Regions from separate parts of the Homo sapiens genome. Here region 1 is linked to region 2. Evidence: promoter capture Hi-C in 16 types of primary human blood cells and fetal thymus (Javierre and others, 2016). All regions are on one chromosome and are shown on one strand. The core of a region is centred on a gene start or on the middle of the fragment in contact, and the rest is flanking DNA. Distances in the headings are between cores, read along the strand shown. Region 1 holds the start of MKLN1-AS (MKLN1 antisense RNA). Region 2 overlaps KLHDC10 (kelch domain containing 10).

Evidence for each region. Contacts are between HindIII fragments. The CHiCAGO score rates a contact against its expected background, and 5 or more counts as called.
Region 1: a contact is called between the fragment with the promoter of MKLN1-AS here and a fragment that was not itself captured in region 2, in 2 of 17 cell types (fetal thymus and non-activated CD4 T cells). The highest score is 6.0, in fetal thymus.

What each region holds. Positions count from the first base shown.
Region 1 is chr7:131,326,015-131,332,376 of GRCh38, forward strand. It overlaps MKLN1-AS (MKLN1 antisense RNA), which reads right to left and starts at 1,765. Exons shown (of 6, transcript NR_125364.1): 1 at 1,601-1,765; 2 at 792-921. It overlaps MKLN1 (muskelin 1), which reads left to right and starts at 1,862. Exons shown (of 18, transcript NM_013255.5): 1 at 1,862-1,983. The coding sequence starts at 1,886. RefSeq lists enhancers at 1,627-2,203, 1,898-2,197, 2,204-2,780 and a silencer at 1,688-1,847. The HindIII fragment of the contact is 3,998 bases long and covers 1-3,990 here.
Region 2 is chr7:130,071,221-130,077,909 of GRCh38, forward strand. The region is part of intron 1 of KLHDC10 (kelch domain containing 10); the gene reads left to right. Among named protein-coding and RNA genes, the nearest start is that of KLHDC10, 4.0 kb to the left of the region's middle. The HindIII fragment of the contact is 2,507 bases long and covers 471-2,977 here.

The sequences.
Region 1 (6,362 bases), core at 515-3,014, 1.3 Mb after region 2:
AAGAACTAATTAACATGTGTTTTTAAAAAAGATTGCTCAGGAACTATGTCTGGAAAAGAACAAGGACTTGACTTACATTAAGGTAAGAAGTGGAATTATAAAATCTGGGGCCCAAAGGAATTGGAGTGAGTTAATTCCTCCCCTTTAAAGTGTCTATTTTCTTCAAAGATAACCACTATATCATCTCTGGGGCTAACATTCTCTGGCCCTTTCCCACTGTCTCTGGCAGCTCCCGACCCAAGTCACTACAGTTACAGCATTCCCTTAAGGAACACATGCTTTTCCAACCTGCTGCAACACAGAAAGCACATGTAATTTTTTATTTTATTGTATTTTATTTGTTTTTCTGAGACAGAATTTCACTCTGTTGCCCAGGCTGGAGTGCAGTGGTGTGATCTTGGCTCACTGCAACCTCTGCCTCCTGGGTTCAAGTGATTCTTGTGCCTCGGCCTCCCAAGTAGCTGAGATTATAGGTGTATGTCACCACACGCAGCTAACTTTTGTATTTTTAGTAGAGACGGGGTTTCACCATGTTGGCCACGCTGGTTTCGAACTCCTGACCTCAGGTGATCCACCCACCTCAGCCTCCCAACGTGCTGGGATTACAGGTGTGAGCCACCGTGCCGGGCCTGGCCTTTCTATCTGGCTTTTTTGATTTGATATCCTAGTAGAGCCCACTATTAAAATTTCCATCTATAGAAACAGGAAGTCAGGAAAGGACTGGAGGGAATTTCGGCAGGTTAATGATTACAACGGGAAGAGAATACAATTATTGAGGTGTTTTGACTCACTTGGTCATTTCCTGAGAAACTCTTTGCTTGAATTTTTCCACTCTTCAGGTGAAGATGATGACACTGTCCAGGCTTTCAGGAGTCCAACCTCTTAGACAATAAGCGACATACTCTTTGGTAACTGCAGTGGCTAAGCCAAGGAATAAATATGCATAACTACAACAAACAGGTACTTGATGAGAACGTTATCTAGAGCTGCCAGATAATTTAGACCAAGTGCACCTTTTGTTGTAAGAAGCTGGTATGATGTCCACATAGTTTTCAGGGCTGCTGTTCCCTCTAAGAAGAAGGAATAGTCTTTTTCCTGAACTACTCTCTCTCTGAACTTTTAGGCTACAATTATGTCAGTTCAAAGTGGGCAGATTTGCCAACTGAAAAAATGATGACACGCAGCTTCCCAACTCTGTAAGGACTTTTCAGGTCTGTGGGTGAACGTCATTCCCGAGCAAACCAATGCCACAAGATTAGTAGGATGCGGCTCACAAGAAATGTTTACAATGAAGGGCATCACAGACTGCAAACCAAACAGGGTAGGAGGACACGGGACCATTTCCTTTTCCTGTCTCCATCTGACTCTGGAAGGCGGGGACAAGACATTTAAAACCAGGACCACTCCAGGAGGACAGCACATTAGCTACTGCCCTCCAGCTCCCTTCAGTGTTGTTTCCGTAAAGGACTTATAAACTGGCGAGGGCGGTGGCTTCCAAAAGCGCACAGGCGTCCCTTTTCCAACTTGGTCTTCTTATTTTCCCTTCCTGCTCCATAACTACAACGTGTTTCTGTTCGTAATCATCTCGGCTTTTCCTTACCTCTGCTTGTAAGAAAAGTCCTTTGCGCCATTCCCCTCCAAGCCCCAGGGAAGGGCCTGGAAAGCGCTTACACCTCAGACCCAGTGTCGGTCAGCCGTCAAGGAGCGAGCGACGTGGGAAACCCTGAGATAGGACATTGGCCCGGCGCTGGGCTCGGGTAACGATGCGGGGCGGGGAGCGCGGGCGGCCGGGGAGGGCGGCGGCCCCTTTAAGAGCAGGCCACGCCCCCTCCCCTCCTCCCGTTCGCTGCCAGCGGTCGGTGGCGGCCGCTACGGTGCTGACAAGATGGCGGCTGGCGGAGCTGTCGCTGCGGCGCCCGAGTGCCGGCTTCTCCCCTACGCGCTACACAAGTGGAGCTCCTTTTCCTCCACCTACCTTCCCGAGTAAGTGCCGGGCCTTGAGCTCGTGCTGCCCCACCCTTCCGCGTCAGCACGGTTGGGCCAGGGGTGCAATGGAGGGCAGCCGAGCCGAGAGGCCCAGGCGGGGCCTGCTGAGGGGGACGTGCGGCCTCCGGAGTCTTAGTTCAGCTGCTGAGAGCGTTGCTCGGCCTCGCTCGGGAAGGGGTTAGGGTCCGGAGAGCGAGCCCAGGGAGAAGGGGCGAGGTGTGTGGCGGATCCGGGGCGCGCACAGGAGAACCGGAAGCCCAGCGGTTCTGCGCTTGGGATTTGGGGGTTGAGGTTGAGGAGGGCTTGGGGGGCGGACGGCTCTGGGGCAGGAATCGGAGTTGGCGGGGCCCTGCCCGCGGGCAAACTACCCCGAATGTCTGAGGTCGTCCGAGGTGGTCGGCGTCGGGGGACAGTTCAGTCGATTGCTGCCGGGACAAAGTGTAAAGCCGAGGAGTGTCTATTCCAGAGTGGGGTCATTAAAAGTGATTAGCTCTAGAGTAGTGTTAAAAGTCACGGAAGGCTGAAAAGTTGTGGAATCCATCTGAATCCTAGCAGGCGGGGAGAACTTGTAGGATTGGCAGACGTTGTCTTTAATGCCTGGAAGTTCTGAAAAAGATAGGGAGTGGGAAGGAGGGACGTTACCGAAGAATTTCAGTATTACGGCTCATTAGAAGATGGGTTTGTATGGACACAGACACGTTTCCCAGTCCGGAAACTCAAACATAGAAACATCTGGCTTTAATGAATTTGATTTTCAACACCGGCTTTGTCTTGATCCCTGATTTAGGTGTTAAAAAAATTCAGTTGCATTGTTAGGTTTTTGTTGGTGGTGTTTTTTTCTCTAGCAAATTCCTTCTGAAATGCTGAAAATACTCTTACATAGTATCTTATTTATCTTTGGCTTATCTTTGAAAGGAGGAGCAGATCTAACTCCAATTTTACATGCTAGTGGAGGAACTGGCTTAGTAAAGGGTTAAGATCTGTGCAGATCCTGAAGAAAAGTGCTAGTTGTCCCTCTAACCATCTCACAGGACCGAAACGATTTTATGAACGAAACAAATTAATGAATAATATATTTTACTGAGTATTTTACTAAACAAAAAAGTGACTAGATCTGTGAAGCATACTCAAGTAAGTTTTCCATCTGTATTTGAGAAATTCTTCACATTTATCCAAATTTGATTTCACTGGTTATATCAATGAAGAATCTCAAAATGGAGCTGCAACTGGAAGAATCTGTCATGACTGCCAGCCTCCCATTTTATTCACCAGGTCAAGGGTTGGCATTCAGTAGGATCTGGCCCAATGAAGGGTGCCAAGTGACCTGTGGTTTGATCTGGCCTGCGTAGCCTATTCATGGCCATATCCCTGATTGATGCTGAAACCCAACTTTGAATTTGAGAGTGAGCCAGATAAACAGTCCAGCCATGTAGTTGGAGTTGAAATGTGGCCCTATGTACTTGACCTCTGATATTCTGGGCTATCTTGTTCTTGGATCTGAAGTTATTCAGCTTTTTTCTATACCCAGGCTAGGATTATGGACAGTTGGGAATTGGTGTGGCATTGTTTGATCTAACTGTAGAGACATTTTTCTGGTCTTGAATTAGCGTATTTCCAGGACGTCACTCCTTAAATTTTTGATGTAGGCCTGAGGCTTGGATAACACAAGTACCATCCGCGTTATCTGTTGTATAGACATTTTAAGAAAGTACATTTCAAGCAGGAAATGATTTAGTGGGATGGCAACTTTAATCTTTTGTGTCTTGTTACTCTGGCCCCTGGTTTGCAGTGGGCAGAACACTAGTTTTGGAGTTAGAAAGCAACAATTTGAGATTGGAGAAATACATTGCTGCAATTTTCTCAAGTACATACATAAAATAGTATTTAATACATACGTAACTTTCATACACTTCCACTTACTATATCTTGTTTAATCCTTATGACATTCTATTGACAAATGCAGTATAATTTGTATTTAAAGTAAAGTATTAGAAGAGTAATCTAAGCTTTTTTCTTTGAAGGAGTATAGTTGAGTATTATGGAGCTGGAGTTGGAGAATATTGTGTCTGCTGGGTTGGTGTGTGCCATGCCTAAATTATAAAACTCTTGGCTCTGAACTTCTATAAGCAAGCAAGGATATTACTTCTCTGTGTGACAGAAGATGTAGGAAAGGGGTTGACTTTACTTACCTTTGCCCTAAAATCCCCTCTAGCAGCAATTGTTGTATCTTTACTGGCAGTGGAAACCATATTAAGGTACTTCTTAAACAGGTCTCATTTTAGGTTAAAGACATTTGTTGAAATTGTCCACAAAGTGGCAAATATTTGTTGGCATAGATCTAAGCATTTCGAGGTGGCAGTAATAAATCAGTAACAAAAATGGTAAACATTTATGATGTGCCGTCCATTTGCTAGGCTCTCTTATGAACATTTTTAAGTGTATCAACTCATTTAATCCTTACCGCAATCCCAAGAGGAATCTCCGTTTGCCAGATGTTGGAAGCAGGTAGGGAGAAGTTTAAACTTGCCTAAGGTCACACAGCTAGATGGAACCAGAATTTGAATCAAGGTAGTCAGGCTCCACAGTCTGTGGTCTTTAACTATAGTGTTTTACTGCTTCTGCACAAAGGTATATATAGTACAGGAAATCAGAACTTTAAAAGAGCTCTTGTATTAAAGGCACTTACATTTTAGTTGTGTAAAGAAATGTGAAGTCATTAAAAAAAATTGAACAATTTTATCTCTATTTTCTTTCTAAGGACTTAGAATTCTTTTCCCCTTCTTCCAGAGGCAGAAAAAACAAATATTTCCCCTTTCAACTCTTTTTAATTTATTTGGACTTTAAAAATGTTAAAGCAGATTCAGTTATAGGGAACACATTTTTACTTTGAGACTAAAAAAAGGCCTTTTATTTTTGTGTGCTTAGAGATTGCCTGTATTTTACTTTTTTTCTGAAATTTACACCTAATTTAATAATTAAATACACTTATTTAAATAATTCATAAAATTACATATACTCTTATACATAAAAATATTTTGTAAACTGCTAATCCCTGTACTCAAATGTTTATTTTTGTATCTAATAATGATGCTAGTTACAATTTAGTGAGCACCTAATATATGCAAGATGCTTTTTGTATACAGTTTTGTTTAATTCTTGGTACATACCTGTAAGATAGGTATTTTATATATGTTTTGTGGAGGATGAAACTGAGGTCCATACAGGGTAAGTAGCTTGCCCAGGGTCATATAGTTTTCCAGAGGCTTGCCAGGTTTTCTGACTTAAAAACTATTGCATTGTGACTTTAATAACAGTCACCACTTATTGAGTACTTTCTATTCTTCAGGCACTGTACTGAGCATTTAGCATGTGTTCTTTGATATAATAGTCTTCACAAAAACCCTATGAGATAAATATTATTATTCTATTTTAGAGCTAGGAAAAGTGAGATTTAGGGAGGTAAGTTAACTTGCCCAGGTCTAAGAGTTGAAAATGTAAGAGGGGCAGGGCAGGGTGGCTCACACCTGTAATCCCTGCACTTTGGGAGGCCAAGGCAGGAGGATCACTTGTGCCCAGGAGTTTGAGACCAGCATGGGCAACACAATGAGACCCCATCTGCAATAATAATAATGATGAGGAGGAAGAAAATGTAGGTGATAAGGTTCTCATATTGGGCCTTTTGACTTCTGTTACGAAAGCTGTTCATTATTATACATGGCTATTGTATATGTCTAATTGAGATTACAGATAAGCGCTCTAAGGTTAGAACAGCAAGAGAGGGAAAAATAGATTTTATCTTGATGTTTAAGATTTTAGTATACTCATATGAGAACTGGGAGAAACTTTGAAAGTATTTTTTACATATTAGGTAATTTCATTGGTATAGAATGATTCTTATCTTGTTTACATATTATTGAATGACTTAGATAATTTAGATGATAAAATCTGATAGATTTTTAAGTGTGTTTACCTTTTTCCTGTTAGTCTTATTACTTAAAATCAAATAGTACTTAAAATAGTACCTTGTGTCAACATGTGATTGATTCATGGTTCAGAGTACAAGTGTTATGATTTGACAACTAGAATAGAAGGTGAATTTATTTCAACTCTTTTCAAAACTAATTTTAAAATTTCACATTTAAAAATGAATATAGGCTAGGCACGGTGGCTCATGCCTGTAATCCTAGCACTTTGGGAGGCTGAGGCAGGACCATCACTTGAGACCAGGAGTTTGAGACCAGCCTGGGAAACATACCCCATCTCTACAAAAGAAAAAAAATATATAAATATTTATATATTTTTATTACATAAAATATATGTGCATAGTTATATATTATTATGTTAAAAATATGTAAATATATATATATTCTTTTCTT
Region 2 (6,689 bases), core at 474-2,973:
AGGAGTGATTTTGTAAAAACTACACGGGGCGTGTGTGTAAGAGGCATTCTGAAACGGAAGAAAGGGGTGGGGGAGTGTTGGCTGGGGAGTGTATGGGAAAGAGAACCTAGAGGATTAGGGAAAACTAGTTGGATTATTAATATTTTGGAATGTTCAGAGACAGGATAATGGTGTCTAGGTTTTAAGGGGAGAAAGTGAAGATCAAAAATATACTTAGTGACACAATTATGCTGTGTTTACAATATAAAAACAACTGAGAATTGGAAAAATGTACCCAATACAATTATTTGACATTTTGGTCTACAGTGCCCTAGCCTTGAGTTCAGATGCTTTTGAAAACAAAATAAAATCAAGTGGATATGTATGTGTAGACAATTTTAAAGAGGTATGTTTGTAATTGAATATTCAATCTAGTAGAAGGAAGGTAGGGAATTAAATAATGCAGAGAACGTCAAATATCCCACTGGGCAAGCTTATTTTTACTATGAAAAGAACTATCAGGAATGATGTGTTAATTATTCATCGTGTTTTTTGTGAATAATATTGATTATATTAGTGATATATTTGTTTAGCTGATGAGTTTTGAGAACATGATGAATTGGTTTTTATGAATTGTGCTTAAGACTGTACCTTATACTTCTAGTCAAAAATTATTATTTGATTAAATTGAAGATGACAAAGGGAATTTAGCACATTTAATGAGACAATTGCTTATGTTCGTGATGAGGTTGTTGATGTGTGCTAGAAATGTACATTACCCCATTTATATGCATTAAATCGAGGCATTTGTAAGTAGTCATATAATATACCAGAAGTTGGGTTTGAGACGTTAATATCAGACTGGGCATCCTAGAATTGCTAAATATACGATCTTTAACATGAAAAAGAAAAAAGGAGCAATCTTTTTTCTTACTCCCAATTAATAATAAAAACTTAGATTTTTGTGTATTGGCAGCTTAGAAGATGAATCTCTTAGCAAACACTGTCACCAGTTTGCCCTCTACTACCGCAATCTTTAGGTCTTTGATCACGGATTAATTATACCATGGGCTTCAAGTAGGCATTCCTAGGTTCCTAGAACCTGCTTGGTGCACTTCCTCACTTCAACCACGTGATGGCAGTGGAAGCCATGATTTCTGCTAAGGGGCTTCAGTGTAGAGCTATTTCTGCATTCCCTTAGCACACAAGACCAAGAACAGCCATTTATCCGGAGGTAAAGATAAACGTGTCTAAACTGTGAAAATTTGTAAAGCGGGGTCATCAGTCTCTTTTTTCTGCTTCCCTTTTCTCTTGACTGACACTTCATTGCTCCTTTACTCATTCTCAAAATTGGGACACATCTGATACCTCAATGTATTATGTAGTTTGAAATTCTTTCATACCAATTCTTTATTCTGCTAGGTATTGCATTTTAAGCCTCTCCCTTTTCTTGCATTTTGATAGATTTTAAAAGATTTTAGGTGATGGGGAGGAATAGGATGTCTAGGCTTGGTTGACGGGCCTTGGAGATAAAACCTTTTATTTTAAATTTATTTATTTATTTATTTATTTATTGAGATGGAGTCTCACTCTGTCCTCCAGGCTGGAGTGCAGTGTCGCGATCTCGGCTCACTGCAACTCCACTTCCTAGGCTCAAGCAATTCTCCTGCCTCAGCCTCCTGAGTAGCTGAAATTACAGGCGCCCACCACCACGCCAGGCTAGTTTTTGTATTTTTAGTAGAGACGGGATTTTATCATGTTGGCCAGGCTGGTCTTGAACTCCTGACCTCAGGTGATTTGCCTGTCTCAGCCTCCCAAAGTGCTGGGATTACAGGCGTGAGCCACCTCGCCCAGCCAAATTTTTTATTTTTTTGAGTGTACTATAGCGGCTGGTCGTGGTGGCTCACATCTGTAACCCCAGCACTTTGAAAGTCCAAGGTGGGAGGATCACTTGAGCCTAGGAGTTCAAGGCCAGCCTGGGCAACAAAGCAAGACCACATCTCAAGTTAAAAATTAAAAAACAACAACAACAACAACAAAAAACTATAGTATAGCTCACTGTCTCTCTCTTTTGACCTCTAAATCCTATTTGTCTTTTTTTTTTTTTTTTTTTTGAGACAGAGCCTCACTCTGTGGCCCAGGCTGGAGTGCAGTGGCACAGTCTTGGCTTACTGTAACCTTTGCCTCCCGAACTCTAGCAATTCTCCTGTCTCAGTCTGCCAAGTAGCTGGATTAGAGGTGCGGGCCACCACGTCCGGCTAATTTTTTGTATTTTTGGTAGAGATGGGTTTTTGCCATGTTGGCCAGGCTGGGCTCGAACTCCTGGCCTCAAGTGATCCTTCCGCCTCAGCCTCCCGAAGTGCTGGGATTACAGGCGTGAGTCACAGCGCCCAGCCAGCCCCATGTTCCATTTTTCATCCTTCTCTACCAAGACTTCCAGTTACTGATACTTAGAACCTTTTCTTACTTTTTACATCTCAACCCTCCATCCAGCCCCCAATGAAACCAAACAAAACAACCTGGTCTTCCTGGAGTGTTCTCATTCTCTTTCAGTGATAGCTTCTTTATCCATCCAGTTATGCAAACTTGAAACTTGGTCATCCTCCTCAATATTTTCTTCTCCGTTGCACTTCAGGTGTAATCATTTACCAAGTCCGTTTCTTTTACTCCTGCCATAACTCCAATCCACGGTGCCACCATCCCTCACTTAGGTCTCCTGCAGGAGCTTTTTAAGCAGTATTCGTGCTTCTACTCTTGCCCTTCAATTCATATAGCACACCAGTCTTTTTGCAAGCCCAAATACATTCTCATCCCTGCTCACAACCTTTTTATTGCTCTTAGGATAAGGCAAAAATCTTTAACATGGCCTCAAAGGCACTGTGTCGTCTGACTCCTCTCTAACTCTACAGTTAATCCTGTGTTACGTTCTCTTGGTCATTGATCTTTTTCTGCCCCCTTGGATGTATCATGCTTCCTCCTGCCCCAGGTCCATTGCACAAGCTTTTCCGTCATCCAAGAACCTTCTTACTCCTCATTCCATTCTCTTGTTTTAACTTCTCTTCCATTAGATCTCAGTTTGATCAAAATGTTTTTTTACATGGAAGCCTTCCGTGACTTTCTGACTTGGTCTCTTCTCTCTGTAACACTCATAGCATCATGTGGCTCTCCTTGGGCATACTTTACCATTTGTGTGTGATTCCTTGATATGCATGATTTGATACTCTTGAGATGTATGTGCGTATACATATACACACATATGCGTATATATATGCCATATACATATACATATATTTTTAAAATTCTAAATTAACGCATTGGCATTATATATAACACGTTAGTGTCTAGTGAGTTTGGTTAGTGTGGTTCAATCCTCTAGCCACATTGACTCTGGATAGATGGTTAAAATCAAGGTTCTCTCTCTTTTTTTTTTTTTTTTTCTGAGATGGAGTCTTGCTCTGTCACCCAGGCTAGAGTGCAGTGGCGCAATGTCACTGCAACCTCTGCCTCCCAGGTTCAAGCAGTTCTCCTGCCTCAGCCTCCTGAGTAGTTGGGATTATAGGTGCGCGCCACTGTGCTACTTTTTGTATTTTTAGTAGAGACGGGGTTTCATCATGTTGGCCAGGCTGGTCTCGAACTCCTGATCTTGTGATCCACCCACCTTGGCCTCCTAAAGTGTTGGGATTACAGGCGTGAGCCACCGTGCCTGGCCAAAATCAGGTTCTTTAATGTAAAGTAGTGGATTAGACTCTGCATCCATTGCGACAGCACAAACAATAGTTTGTGAAACCTTTTTTTAAGCACTTGCCTTTCTCCTGTTTTCTGAAGTTCACTAGTGATTATGTGTTTGCCTCATAGGCCAAGAAATTAATAGCTTTTTACTCCTGGATTTTTACTAACTCATAATTTCTATACACCCAGTAACGAACAGGGAATTGTGCTTTTTGTAGAATAAGTATGCAGAGAGCTCAGGAGCGCGGGGTTCATGGGGCAATGGAATTCAGGTAGCTGTTGTGATTTAACTGTGTGAGTTTGATTAAATACCATGATTAGCTGGGAAAACAGTTAAACATTGTTGCTAACATGGGAACTGGAAAACTGACAAAGAAAAAGAAGGAAAAATGTAACAGTTGGTAAAGCTGGGTAAAAATAATACTGTAGTCTTAACTTAAAAATTTTAAGTAAGTAATGTGTATAAAATCCAAATGATACAAAAAAGTATATGGTAAAAGGCAAGTTTTTCTTCTTCCTTTGACCCCAGCTAATTGACTGCCTTCCCTAGAAGCAACCAATGATACATTTCCTGTATATTTTTTCCAGGTTCAGGGGGGACGGGAGGGACTTTGTGGAGATGGTAGCATTCCTTTGTTTGGATGGGTATTTAAGATGTTTACAATCTTGCTAATACAAATAGTGATACAATGAATAGCCCTATACATATATAACTTTTGCACATGAGAGAGTCTTTCTTTAGGATAAATTTGTAGAAGTACAGTTTCTGGGTCAAAGGATTTATGTTTACTGCTTAAATTTTGATAGATTCTGTCAAATTTCAAGTTTATGTTTCCCTGTTGTTGTTCGAGTGCTGTCTTCCTTGTTCTTTTGGTAACGGAGTGGGTTATCAAACGTTATTTAAATTGTCAGTTTAATAGGAATAGTTTTCTTAAGTGTCTTTCCAATAGGTAGATAAAAGAGCCATTTATTTGTTTCCTTTATCTATAGATCTGTTTATATTTTTTGTTCATTTTTCTATTGGGATGGTTCATATTGTTTATAAAGGCGGTACCCAACCTTTTTGGCACCAGGGACCAGTTTCGTGGAAGACAATTTTTCCATGGACCGGGATGGTGGGGTGGAGGAGTGGGGGGAATGGTTTCAGGATGAAACTGTTCCACCTCAGGTCATCAGGCACTAGAGACTCAAAAGGAGTGCACAGCCTAGATCCCTTGCATGCACAGTTCACCGTAGAGTTAGCACTCCTATGAGAATCTAATGCTTGATCTGACAGGAGGCCAAGCTCTGGCGGGAATGCTCACTCGCCCACCACTCACCTCCTGCTATGTGGCCAGGTTCCTAACAGGCCATGGACCGGTACCAGGGGTCCATGGCCTGGGGCTTGCGGACCCCTGGTTTATAGGAACTCTGTATTTTAATGAAATCAGTTCTTAGCCATTGACACGTTGCAGATATTTTTCACAGTTTTTCATTTGCGTTTTGACTTTGTTTATGGTCTATTTTTTCATCAGAAATTAAATGTTTTAAATGTTTTGTTGTGAAATTTATCAGTCTTTTCAGAGTCTAGGTTTTGTGTCATAAGAAAGGCCTTTCCTATTTTATTATTATTTCTAATTCAAATTAAATATTCTTGTGTTTTCTCCAGGTACTTCTGTAATTTTATTTTTAAGTTAAATGCACTTACCCACACAAAATGTAAGTTAAATAAAGTGTCGAGGTGGGAATCCAACTATACTTTTCTTCCAGATGGCTGCCCAGTTATGGCAGTGTCCTTCATTTAGTTCAGCTTTGCCCTGCTGATTGAAATGTTGTCTATAGGTGTACTTAGTTCCTACAGTTTGAGGTTATTACTGGACTTTTATTCTGTTTCATTGATCAGATTACCTATTTATACCTAATGACTCTATTCCTTGGTTATCATCTTCCCTCATTCTACTTCCCAGAGTTTTCCTGGGAAGTTTTCTTTGTTTATTTTTCTATATGGCTTAGAATTAGCTAACCAAGTCCTGCTCCTCTGTCCTGTTGGCATTTTTATTGGTATTGTATTATATTTATAGATTAATTTAGAGATAATTGACATCGTTTTGAGGTTCAAAAACAGGGTCTATATTCATTTCTTTATGTTCAAGAACAGTATATGTGGCCAGGCATGGGGGCTCACGCCTTTAATCCCAACACTTTGGGATGCTGAGGCAGGCGGATCACTTGAGGCCAGGAGCTTGAGACCAGTCTGACCAACATGGGGAAACCCCATCTCTGCTAAAAATATAAAACTTAGCCGTTCTTGGTGGCAGGTGCCTGTAATCCCAGCTACTCGGGAGGCTGAGGCAGGAGAATTGTTGAACCTGGGAGGCAGAGGTTGCAGTGAGCCAAGATTGTGCCACTGCACTCCAGCCTGGGTGACTGAACAAGACTCTGTCTCAAAAAAAAAAAAAAAAAAAAAAAAAAAAACAGTATATGTATTTATTGTCATTCAAGTATTGTTTTGTATCTATCAACATTAAAAAGTTGTTTATTTTTTTATATAGGCCTCACATTTCTTATTATGTTTATTCCTTGGTGTTTATCTTGTTTGTTGCTATTGTAAATGGGGTTTCTACTACTTTCTTTTTTCTTTTTCTTTCTTTTTTTTTTTTTTTTTTGAGACGGAGTCTTGCTCTGTCGCCCAGGCTGGAGTGCAGTGGCACCATCTTGGCTCACTGCAAGCTCCGCCTCCCGGGTTCACGCCATTCTCCTGCCTCAGCCTCCCAAGTAGCTGGGACTACAGGCACCTGCTACCACGCCCAGCTAATTTTTTGTAGTTTTAGTAGAGATGGGGTTTCACCATGTTAGCCAGGATGGTCTCGATCTCCTGACCTCGTGATCCACCGGCCTCGGCCTCCCAAAGTGCTGAGATTACAGACGAGAGCCACCGCGCCCGGCCGGGGTTTCTACTTTCTTTTATAACTTTTATGTGGTTGTTTGAATATGAGAATGCT